2 separate regions of the Homo sapiens genome follow, and region 2 is linked to region 1. The links are contacts of gene promoters, found by promoter capture Hi-C in human tissues and cell types (Jung and others, 2019). All regions are on one chromosome and are shown on one strand. Each heading gives the region's core, a stretch centred on a gene start or on the middle of the fragment in contact. The rest is flanking DNA. Distances are from core to core; before and after follow the strand shown.

What was found. The method cuts DNA at HindIII sites, captures the fragments that hold promoters and counts their contacts. A contact is called where the count stands out against the background at its distance.
Region 2: a fragment that was not itself captured here is called in contact with the fragment with the promoter of PCLO in region 1 in 1 of the 25 tissues and cell types used here (hippocampus).

The regions. Positions count from the first base shown.
Region 1 is chr7:83,160,597-83,166,330 of GRCh38, forward strand. PCLO (piccolo presynaptic cytomatrix protein) reads right to left here and starts at 2,288. Exons shown (of 25, transcript NM_033026.6): 1 at 1,749-2,288. The coding sequence starts at 1,996. RefSeq lists a silencer at 1,931-2,020 and an enhancer at 2,141-2,210. The HindIII fragment of the contact is 31,773 bases long and covers 1-5,734 here.
Region 2 is chr7:83,200,690-83,206,423 of GRCh38, forward strand. No RefSeq gene overlaps it. Among named protein-coding and RNA genes, the nearest start is that of PCLO, 41 kb to the left of the region's middle. RefSeq lists an enhancer at 3,939-4,561. The HindIII fragment of the contact is 6,136 bases long and covers 1-5,673 here.

The DNA.
Region 1 (5,734 bases), core at 1,038-3,537:
CCATACACTAACTATTGATAAGATTTCCATCATAATAAAATTATCAATAGAGAGCTTTAAAAGTATACTATCTGATGCAAATAGTGCATGAAGCAACAGTTTTATAGGTGGAAATAATGTTTCTCAGCCACCTTCTAAACAGAAGAAAAGTTAGAAATCTAGAAATCAAAGATCTCACTGTAACTGGTATTGGTAACCAGCATGATAGACCTGTTGCTTGTGCCTCTTAGGAAAAAATATAAAAGATCTGGCATACAGTTCTAAAAGGCTAATAAAAGTATCATACCTTGTTATTATCCTGTGAAAGTCTACTGAATGAACACTAAATTTTTTTTCTTGTCAAGTTTTCATCAAGTAGAGGAAAACAGTACATATCATAAACTGGATAAGAGAACAAGAAAGACTTTTTCCAAATAGCCCCATGGATTACTAGTTTAAAAACACAGAAAAACATATTTAACATAAAGGGGCTAGTTTTCACTAGTACTAGTAGTTTCAAGATAAACAGACTTTTTACCTGGTAGATTTTAAGCATTTAAGATTTTATGTGAAAATATTGTCACTATCCATAAAACATTTTACATTTCTCCTATAATTATTTGGCAAAATTATGCTTACGTGATAGTGACTAAGTTAATTTTTTTTTTATTTTATAAAGTGGAGGATAAGGATCTACACCTATATATCCAGGTCTTTCGTGCTTACAGTATCTCAAATGAAAAATTGTAGGTTTGCCTTCAGTTGTCATAAAAGAGGAATTGTTTCAGAACCACGGACAGAAAACTGTTCTCTACTAGAGGGTGCAAAGTTAAAGGGTTTGTTTACAGTAAGAAAGGCAAGGCAGGCACAATGATTATACCCCTCTCAGTACTCTAATTAGAAAACAACTAATCTATTGGGATGAAGGAAAATGGAGAGTTACAGGCGGAAATGAAAACATTCATATTACTGATTAGCTCTTATACTTGCCTATGCAAGTTGCCATTTATTTGCTTTGTTTTTAAAAGTATGTATTGAAAATTATTTTCTAAGGTAATAAAATTCACATGTTCTTCCCTAAACTGAAGGCCACTTTTGCATAAAACAGAGCAGTGGCTTAAAAATAGCATATGCTAATTTAGAAATATATGTACAGCACCTGCTCTGCTGTGACCAAACCATCTGTTTAATGCCACACATATTTTAGGGTTCCTCAATGAATATAAAAGGTATATTCATTCTATTCCTTCTACCTAAACAGCTTCTGCTCTCCTCTGGGGGTGGGGTGGCAAGAGAGGACAAATCACCTACAAGGGGATTAAAGTTACAGAAATATTTAGACATCATTCACAGAGAAAAAGACCCGCAATGGCCAAGAGGTTTAAACAGAGACAGGTAAACACCCAGCTCTATCCATTTCCTAACACGTCCGTGTTGTATTAATGGAAGACTTCCAGATTAGTAAAACACTGGAGGGCGTCTCTCCACGCCATCCTAGAGGGGAAGGGCTACAAAAGGCCAAAAATCACAACCTAAAATCACAGTTCCAAGAATGTAACCCTTGACTATCCCACCAGAAACTCTACAATGCATCATTTTTATTCCGCCCATCACAAGGCTTAGGATCTCTCTATGGCCACCCCACTGGGGAGAATAAAATGAACGGAGGCGACATATATGTACCGCCGTGCTGGCACATACAGGCTGGCACATATGTGCACGGGAAGCTGTACATATATGCCCGGACATATACATCATGCTGTGCATGCCTGTGCATGGAAGGCGACTCCGCAGCGGCCGGGGGGACGCTTCCCTTGGGCAGCCCCTGCGCCCTTGACATGACAGCGGCGATCTGTCTCCTCTCCTCTTCGCTCAGCTGGCTCAAATCCGCCTCCATGCCGGCCGGGATCGCGGTGTGAGAGGGGCTCCCCGCCCCGCTAGCTCCTCCTCCAGCCGCTGCGGCCGCCGCCAGCCCTTCGGGGAGCCCTTCCCCTTCCAAGCTCGCCTCGTTGCCCATGGCTCAGGGAGACTCGGGGCCGCCGCGCTCCCTCCTCGCGCCGCGTCCCAGTCGAGAAGCCCGCGGCCAGGGGAGCAGTCAGAGCCGGGGTCCGCCTCGGGGCGTGCAGGCAGCCGAGTCCCTGGACTCTGGACCAGGCACTGCCGCCCGGAACGCCAGGCAGGGGTTAGTCCCGCTCGCAGGTAACGCCCGCTGCCGGTGCCTCCTCCATGTTGGACAGCGCCAGGCAACCTTTGCAGAAGACACCTCCCGGACGCCGCCTCGGCGCCCCGAGCCGGGGAGAAGCAGATCTGAGCGGTGCCAGCCGGGCGCCGTCCGCCCCTCCCACCGCGCACCGCCTCCTCGCCCGCGCCCTCTCAGTGCGCAGGCGCCTCTCGGAACAGGTGATGCCCGCGGCCCACGCCCACCCCATCCTGCGTCGCTCCGGATCCTTCCTCGCTCTCAGCACCGATTTAAAGGAGCCCAGTGAACGCCCGGCTAAAAACAGGGAAGAAACAGGCGACGTTTCTTTCAGGCATATTTCAGGATGCCTCACTGGAGTTTTAGCTTACTAGACACCTAGATTTAAAGGGGGCGGGAGGGGCAGGAGAGGAAATGTCTGTTTTCAGCTTTGGCTCCTGGGATTTGTAGTTTCATTTATTTTCTTTAAAAGAAGGTTTTAAAACATTCTAGGAAAGGGTTCAAGTAACTGAAGATTAGCAAGAGAGACCCTGATACCTTTGAGGCACATTTCCCAAGGGAGCTAAGAATGGCCCTTTTCATTTAGAACTTTCACAGAACAATTAAATTGTTAATTAGATTATTTAAAATGATACAATATTAGTAAGCAGCTAAGGTTTTGAGTGCTTATAACTAGTTCCCTAAAGGGAGGGACTACACAATAATAAAGGATTATGGGAAGTTGTGGACGTGGGGTTCTGCAGTAATATCGAGATTGTAAAAATATTAAAATGTTTTAGTATGAAAGTTTGAAAACATGATTTTATTCCCCCGCCCCTTTTTTAACAAATGTGGACAGAAGAACCCCACGAAGTTCATTTAATGTGTGACTGTTAAGTTACAGTCACACAATTGGTTAGCAGCACGTTATCATAATAACCAGTTTTTGAGACCCACTTTCGACTATCACTCCTACACTTTTCTTGCTGTTACATTTCTTAGACGGGACTGTTCAGCACTGAATCTGCAGCCTCAATGTTGTTACCTACGTTTCCTCAGAATGTGAACTTAATGTCTCAACTGTTGAGGTTAGGTAATAGAGACTGAATAAATAAATCAAACAGAAATGAATAAGTTGCTCAGAAAGTAAGTCCAGGTTTTTGCAATAATCATTACATAGTTCGATCTTCTACCTTCCAAAGTGAATTTGTAGTTTTACAGTATAAAAGCACGAATAATTACAACTGATTTTTTTTTAAATGACAAAAATAATGCAGTCTCTTATGAGGGAACCAAATGCTAACATCTTTTGTAACAAATGCCGAAAAAAAATGACATAGTGTATATTAATACCCGTAACTGCTTTTGTGTGTGATGTAATGAGTAATAAAACTCAAGCTATTCTCATCCTTCGTATGTTTAAAAGTCCATGCATTTTTGTGTATGTATGAATATATACGATTGTATAACTATAGACAATATGGCTTATAATTTTTATATAGGTGCATATGAAGGTCTTTAATTAATATTCCTTCCTAACAGAAGGTGAGAGAGGATTGTGTTCATTGAGTGGAGCAAGAACCTGCAGTGGCTTAAGGTCCGACGCTTCATTTTTTGTTAAGGCCGAGTTACTTCTGAATTGCTGCTCTCAGCCATTTTTGTTAGCTCTACTTTAAAGTGGGATTTACAGTTAGAGTGGAAGAAATTCAAGTAAGGTTACAACTGATTATAAACTGGCTTCTCAATTTTGAGAGAAAAATCACGAGAAGTATTTTAGTGAAAAGTTTGATAAATTTAATTTTGAATTCTTAATATCTGAACCATCAATTTTTTCCTTTATACTTAGTCCAAAGTGTATCTGTAATTTAAATAAAAGAAAAACTCGTATTTAGAATGTGTTCCTATAGACATACAATGTATAAAATATTAAGTAATAAAATTAGTTTTGTCACTTTACAATATTTGTAAATTGAAAAATATTAATAAGTCATGAAGTTATAACTTAGATGATCAGCATTATTTATTCAACCATTTTATAAATGGAGTTTAGAATTTAGAACCCGCTTTTTGGAGAAAGGGTACATGTGTGCATGTCTTATACTTCAGGTTTTTTCTGTTGACGATGTCTGGTTTTAAATCCTAGCTCTGCATTCTTACAGCTATTTGGATTGGTAAGTCACTGACTTTTCAGATGTTGAGGTTCCTCAACTGTAAGAACAGAGAAAATAATACTACTAACATTACTACCTCTCAGGTTTGTTGTGACAACTAAATTAGAAAAAGCTGTGAATGCACTTGTAAACTAGAAATATGTTATCAGAATGTGGTATATGGTTACCAGGCTAGCCTGGGAAATTACTGAGTCTTCCATGCTCTGAAGAAGCCAAGGAGGTGGGACACATGGAGAGAGGATCCTAGCTGCCTCGGCTTCGTCCATCTCAGCTGAGGCTTTAGTGAGACCCCCGCCCCCCCGACCGCCTTAGCATAACCTACCCCAGCTGAGCTACCTACTGGCTACAATGACATCAATGAACCCAATGAGACCAGCAGAAGAACTACACAATCAACTGAAAGAATCAGAGAATTAATAATAATAATGATAATAATAAGATGCTTTTTTAAGTCAATAAGATTTTTTGGGGGGGCTAGTTAAGCTATATAACTGATATTCCAGGTTTTGCACATTATGATTATGCATAAGCCTTCAAAGTTTCCCTTCACTCTTTTAGTGACTTTTCTCAGTTACTGTCCAGCTGCACTTGAGTTGTTTGTTCAAAATTTCCAAATACCACCCTTCTAAACTATAAAGTGGAAAAGAACACAATTATCTTGAATACTTATATGCGTGTTTCATGAAAGGCTCAAACAAGAAAGTATATGTGAAGATGACTTTTAAACGATGTAGCATTACCCAGACGTAAAGTTATATAAGAAATGGAAGATTTGGCATGCCCTGGTGGCTCACACCTGTAATCCCAGCACTTTGGGAGGCCAAGGCGGGCGTATCGCGAGGTCAAGAGATCAAGACCATCCTGGCCAACATGGTGAGACCCTGTCTCTACCAAAATACAAAAAATTAGCCGGGCGTGTTTGCATGCCCTTGTAGTCCCAGCTACTCGGGAGGCTGAGGCAGGAGAATCACTTAAACCCGGGAGGTGGAGGTTGCAGTGAGCCGTGATCACACCACTGCATTCCATCCAGCCTTTGAACAGAGCAAGACTCTGTCTCAAAAAAAAAAAAAAAAAAAAAAAAAGAAAGAAAAGAAAGGGAAGATTTATTTATAAGAATTTTCTGAGGAACATCAATGTATTTATTTGAGAATTCGTTTGGAGTCAGGTGACACTCTCAAGGTCCTACTCAAGAGGATTAGACTATAGGTTTACATCCCTGGGTAAAATGCTTGGGGTCAGAACTTCAAAATTATTTGTGGGATTTTACAAAGTTAATAAGATAAACTGTACATTATATAATAGTACTTTTAATATTTATCCAGGAAAACCTGTTAATAGTCACATTTACCTCTAAAGGAGTTAAGATGAAATCAACTAGAAGATGCTCAGTTTTTCTGAGTCTGGTGAT
Region 2 (5,734 bases), core at 1,356-3,855, 40 kb after region 1:
AAAATCAAATCACCCCAAATTATTTAAATGGGTATTTTAACCTTCACAGACTTCTCCATTAAGGTCTGTCAAGATTTTTCATTGTCCTTGGCCAAGAACTTTCATGTAATAAATTCTTTTTAATGCATTCTTCCTTTTACATAAAATTGAAGCCTCTACAACAACCTGCAGCTATTCACCAAATCAACATTCTTTTATAGTTCTTCATAAAGCCGGCCTCGTCAGTTATATAGCTCACTACAATCCTTGGTCAGACTACGTCACGTGGTAACTAAGTTAGAGAATTTTAACTTAATGAAGGTAAAATGATTTCGACTTTGTGGATGAGATTCTCTGTAATTATATGAGCTAAGGAAATTTCAACTATAGTTAGTCCCCATTTGCTTCCCACAGGTGTGTGGTAACAAATATATACACATTAGGATTCTACTGAGGCATAGGAAGCAAAGGTCTAAAAACTGTTAATCAGTCACATTTCTCTAATAGCCTTAAACTAGCAACCAAATTGTTGGAGTTAAATGAGCAAGAAGCCCAAAGTATCACTTCCGTGAAATACCTCTTTTTGGCTATTATTTGGCGGACTATTATGTTATAAAATAAATCAACACTGGACCAAAGAAGGTAAGTGTTATAAATATTCAGAAAAATAGAAACAGGAAAACAATATTTCTTATTCACTGGTGCTGCCGCAACATAAAAGAAAGAAAAATAAGAGAAAATGGAAGGATTGGTAAAAGAAGATGTGGGACTTTGGAGTTGCACTGCTCAGAACTCCCTTCAAGAGAGCCTGCTGTAAGGAGCTTGTCTGGCTGACAGCCTCCATTGGCTACTTCTCCACCTTCAGCAGAGTACTCAAGTCCACACTGCTGAGGCCACACTGCCACTGGGTAACTCCTGGCCATTGGCTGTGCAAAGCAGCAATAGCAGAGCTGGCTCATTTCTGCCTGTACCTAGGACTCCTCTATAGGGCAACTTTTGCTCAAAACCTCACCAAGACTTTCTCAGAACTGCATTGTAATATGAAGTTCTTCCTATTCAACAGCCTTCTCTTTTTTGTTTGTTTGTTTGTTTGTTTCTCCTAGTGTCTAGTATCAGGCATTACGCACACATCTATCTGAAGGCTATCTACACCTTCCTTTACTCCCTCTCCTCTTTATCCTTTACAAGCCTTTCCCTCCATAAATGGGATTTGCATAACAAGTCCCAACTTAGTATCAACTTCTCAGAGGCCCCAAGCTGACCCAGAAACTAAGGTCAAAGAAACATATTTTCCTTTACGAAATATAATTTTTACACCCTATTTTGGCTTTTTGTCACTTAAAGGTGAGAAAAATCTATAATTTGAAAAATGTTTGACATCAATGGCAAAATAAATTAAAAAACAAAAAAAGTTTTTGTGTCCCTTTCTTTTACCCTTCCTCCCTCCCTCTTTCTTTTCCTCCCTCCTTCCCTGTCTGTTTTCCTCCCTCCCTCCCTCCCTTTTAAAATTTTTTTTAAATACGAAAACTGAAATTTGGCAAGGCATTTTATTTAAAAATTCTGTCCTCTCTATTGTAGATCTGAAAGCTTGTAAACAATTTTTTGTGGTGTTCTTTGTAGTGCCACTCATAGTGATAATTGTGGTAGTCTTTGATAGCTATTCTTGGTGTTCATACATGGATGCACACAGCTTTAAGAAGAAAGACTGCTATTACCAATGTAATTGAATCAAACTCATTATTGGACAATGACTAGCTTGCATACATTACTAAAGACACCTTTAGAAAGATTTCACTGGTGAATTTTTTGGGATAATAGTATAAAGAAACAAAAAACTGTTCAATTTAATATGTTATTATTATGTTAATATGATAATATGTTAAGAATATGCTATACACATATTCTTCATATAGGTAAGATCAAATTTGGGGTAGCATATGCCAGCTAAAGTGCTTTGTTAAAACTCTCTTTTACTTTCACATCTGTTCCTTTATCTTTTCATTAATATTTAGAGACAACATATACTATTCATTATTAGAATGCTCACAATAAACTTTAACAATATTTGAATTATGACACATAGGTAAAGAAAGTTTCATTCTCTACTATCTGACCCTTATGATTAGTTTATGGACTATAACCAGACCACCACAAAGACAAAATAAAAAATTATATGTAAGAACAAATATATGGAATAAAAAGCATAATATTTATTAGTGTAATTGTAGTTGTACTCTCACAGAAGGAAAGCATTAGTTAAGGTACAGAAATAATAAAAAAGAAGAACAGTTGGTATAATTTTGAGATTGCTTTTAGTTTTGATTTTGCCTTGTTTTGCTTTAATACAAAAAGGTATTAAATACTAATAAGCAACATCTTATTTTGTTCACTTTAATTTTAATATCAAGATCACTGTATTCCTATCATATTTTCATTCTGATCTCTCACTATTTTCCAACAGTGATTCAAGTGTGACTGATCCATTTGCCGTTCCCTAAAATCACTTTTTTCTTTCCTGTCTCTATACTTTGTTTACAGCTCATCTTCACCGAGAGACCTGTAACACCTATTGAAATCCACCCACTTACCTTTCATGTCCAGAGCTACCCAAGCTGCTTCTGATCCACACAGATAAAATATATCACCCTTCACAGCTAATATTAACTCTTTGGTTCAGGAAATGTGTGCCCTCCTAAATTTAAAACTCTTTGGACATAACTGTAATTTCCTTTAATAACCACTATCTCTTTTCTAATGACTGCTTCTTATCTATCACGTCCTTCCAGTTTTTGAACTTATTTTGTTCATATTTGGTAGTACCAACTTGAGCAAATCTTTAGAGAAGGCCCAAACATAGCACAGTACCAGCAACCATAGACATCTAAAAATGTATTTATTGTTCCCTCATATTTAAATGAGAATTTGCCTGAATAATGAACTCTGAGTTCTTCTTTTACCTGTCTTTTGAGATTTTGAAAACATACTTCATTTTCTTCTTGTGTCTATTATGAAAGATAAGATGTCTGAAGTCCACCTGTTTTTTGAACTTCTTTATAAATAAGTTGTAGAAGGTTTTGTTTTAGGGGTTGCAATACTTTTCCAGGGTCTGTATAAGTGCTGGTCTTTTCTTAGTTATTTTGCTCAATCCAAAGAGTTCCTTTCCGTCTGAAGAAGGATGTTTTTCTTCAAGTCAAGGAGACCTTCTTTTCTTATTTGTTTGATTTTCTGCTCTCTTATCTTTTTATCTGTTTCCACCAATATCTCTTTTTAGGAAGATATGGCAAGTTCTTTCATTTCCTAAAATTTTTAGAGCACCTTCTTGACTCATCTTTGGGTTATTCGTTTGGCCTATCATTATTTAAATCTAATATCCAGCCCTTTCATTGATTAAAAAAAACTTTTCGATCTATTTTGAACAGTTCTCAAACTTTTTGTTGTTTTCTGATTGCTTCTTTTTATAGAAGCTTGATTTTGTTTTCGGATGCAGCATCCTCTATAATCCTTCTGAGGACATCCATCAGAATTTTTTTTTCTTTTGTTCCCTAAATTATCTGTTCTCTTCCTTGTCATTTGTTCTGATTAAGCCTTCTATTTCATGCTGTTAATTTTCCTAAATTGTGCTGATCTTTGGTTTCCTAGACATACATTTAGGTGGCCAGCAAAGATTTTCTCAGCAGTTGTGTCATCTGTCTCTCACAAAAGCATCCTTCTCAGTGGGAGGGTTAATAAAGCTGAATTATTTTTTATCTCCAGAGCTTCATCTTTCTGCATCAAAAATCCTGTCAAACTTTTCCTGGGCACTTTCTAGAATGGGTGTAACTAGTCCCTATATGACCCAGTCTCTAAGTGCACATATTTTCTCTCTTTTCAAAACTGTATGCAAAAAGCTCTTAACTACTTGATTAAACTCCCACTGTGTTTTTTCTTTCCTTTTTGTTCTCATAAGAATATAAACGCAATTTTCCCCTTCCTAATTTTCTCTCTTTCTTTCCAAGGCCTTGCTGACCTTACTTATTTCATTGAATTCATTGCCTTTCTACATTATATTTCAGCTAAGTAACCCATTTTCTTCTCCTTTTGAAGAATTGAACTTCATCTGGCACTTCTAGTCAATTCTGATCACTCTACAATCTTTGTAACTTGCTCTCCTGTCTTTCTGTTGCTCACCATGCGGATGACTCAAATATCTGTCAGTGGTCAAAGATCTGGGAGGAGATCTGGGAGGTATAGTTAAATGGTGTCCTTTGTCTAAACCCATTTACCTGAAATGGGAGACTCACTGAACAGTGTACCTGCTGGGCTATTTCTTTGACTAGAGAAGAATGTATTCTCATTGATTTTCTCTTCCTCAAACCTTTTCTCCATGTCTTCATTCACCACTTCTCTTTTTCAAGGCTGCGTCCATTACCATCCCCTTCTCTTTGAAATCTTTGGATCTCCAAATGGGAATTGCCTACCTTTTTCTGCTGCTGTATAAAGGGAGGCAGCAGAAATATGTAGGAGAGGAGAAAGCAAATCAGGGTAAGCAGGAGGGACTTTGTGACTTTAGATAAGAGAGAAAATATTTTGCAAATATTAAATATTTGATTTCGTTTTGCCCTCAAAACGTATTCTTTTGCAGCCTTCTGAATTCAAGTCCTAATCCCATAGTGTATTACGCAGGAAGAAATAGAAAGGTAAATCCTAGAAGAAAGAAGCCACTTGTCAGGATTGAGTCCTGAGGCTGAATTTCTTCACATCTTTAGCATGACAATGATTATCAATGCTAGAAACACTTATAAAGAAATAAGTTTCTAAATTACTTTAGATGCTAGCATATTGATATTTGAGGTCTCTCTTACTCTAACCACAGCAGAGATCTCAGGAGATTCAGATAATTCCAATGTTAATTCAATGACCTTCTTAATCTCTCTTTTATTGCATGGTTACATAAACTCCTACTCCATGTACATTGATACCGTCTAGAGAGGAGCATGAGAGCGCCGTACCTGGGACATATTTGAGCACATCCCTGAGACATCCAAGCAGAGGATGAATTACCTGAAAAGACTATTTAAATTATGATATATGCAATTACTTATTTATACATTTAATTATCTATATTTATTATTGATAAATATTATTTTATATGTCTTATTTTTATTTACTGAGAATTTACTATGCGCTCAGTAAATATATTAGAAATAGAGTGACAAAACAGAATAATGAATCCCCATTCTTATGGAGCTTTTATTCTACAAAAATTATTGGATCACAATAAGTTCACCAACATTGGACCAAACATTTATTTTCTGAACACTGTGACTTTTTTTGTTTTTTTTGTGTAAAGTCTTTGGTAGTTCCCTGGCCCTTTTAGCACCTTTGCATCTTCTTCATAGAGCACAGGAGCAATTTAGAGTCCTTTATATGTGAGGCAACACAAAGGATCATATTGTCAAATCCAAGTGACACACAAGTCAGATATATTACCCAGTGTCTAACTTTCCTAAACAATGTCAAAAATACAAGTAAGTATCCAGATGAAGAAGGAAAATGTCTGGATACACCAGGTCCCAGGTCCTAGGTGCTTCCTTCACAGATCGGTCATGCTCTATGACCAAGAAAAATACATGAGATCTTTAATGAAGTGCACAAGGCTGCCTTACACAACAGGGAACATCTCAGTTATTTAATATCCTCATTTATACTTATATATTTGCATAGCACATATGACAGAGTCTGCAGTCATGCTTCATGAATCTGTAGATTCTATAAT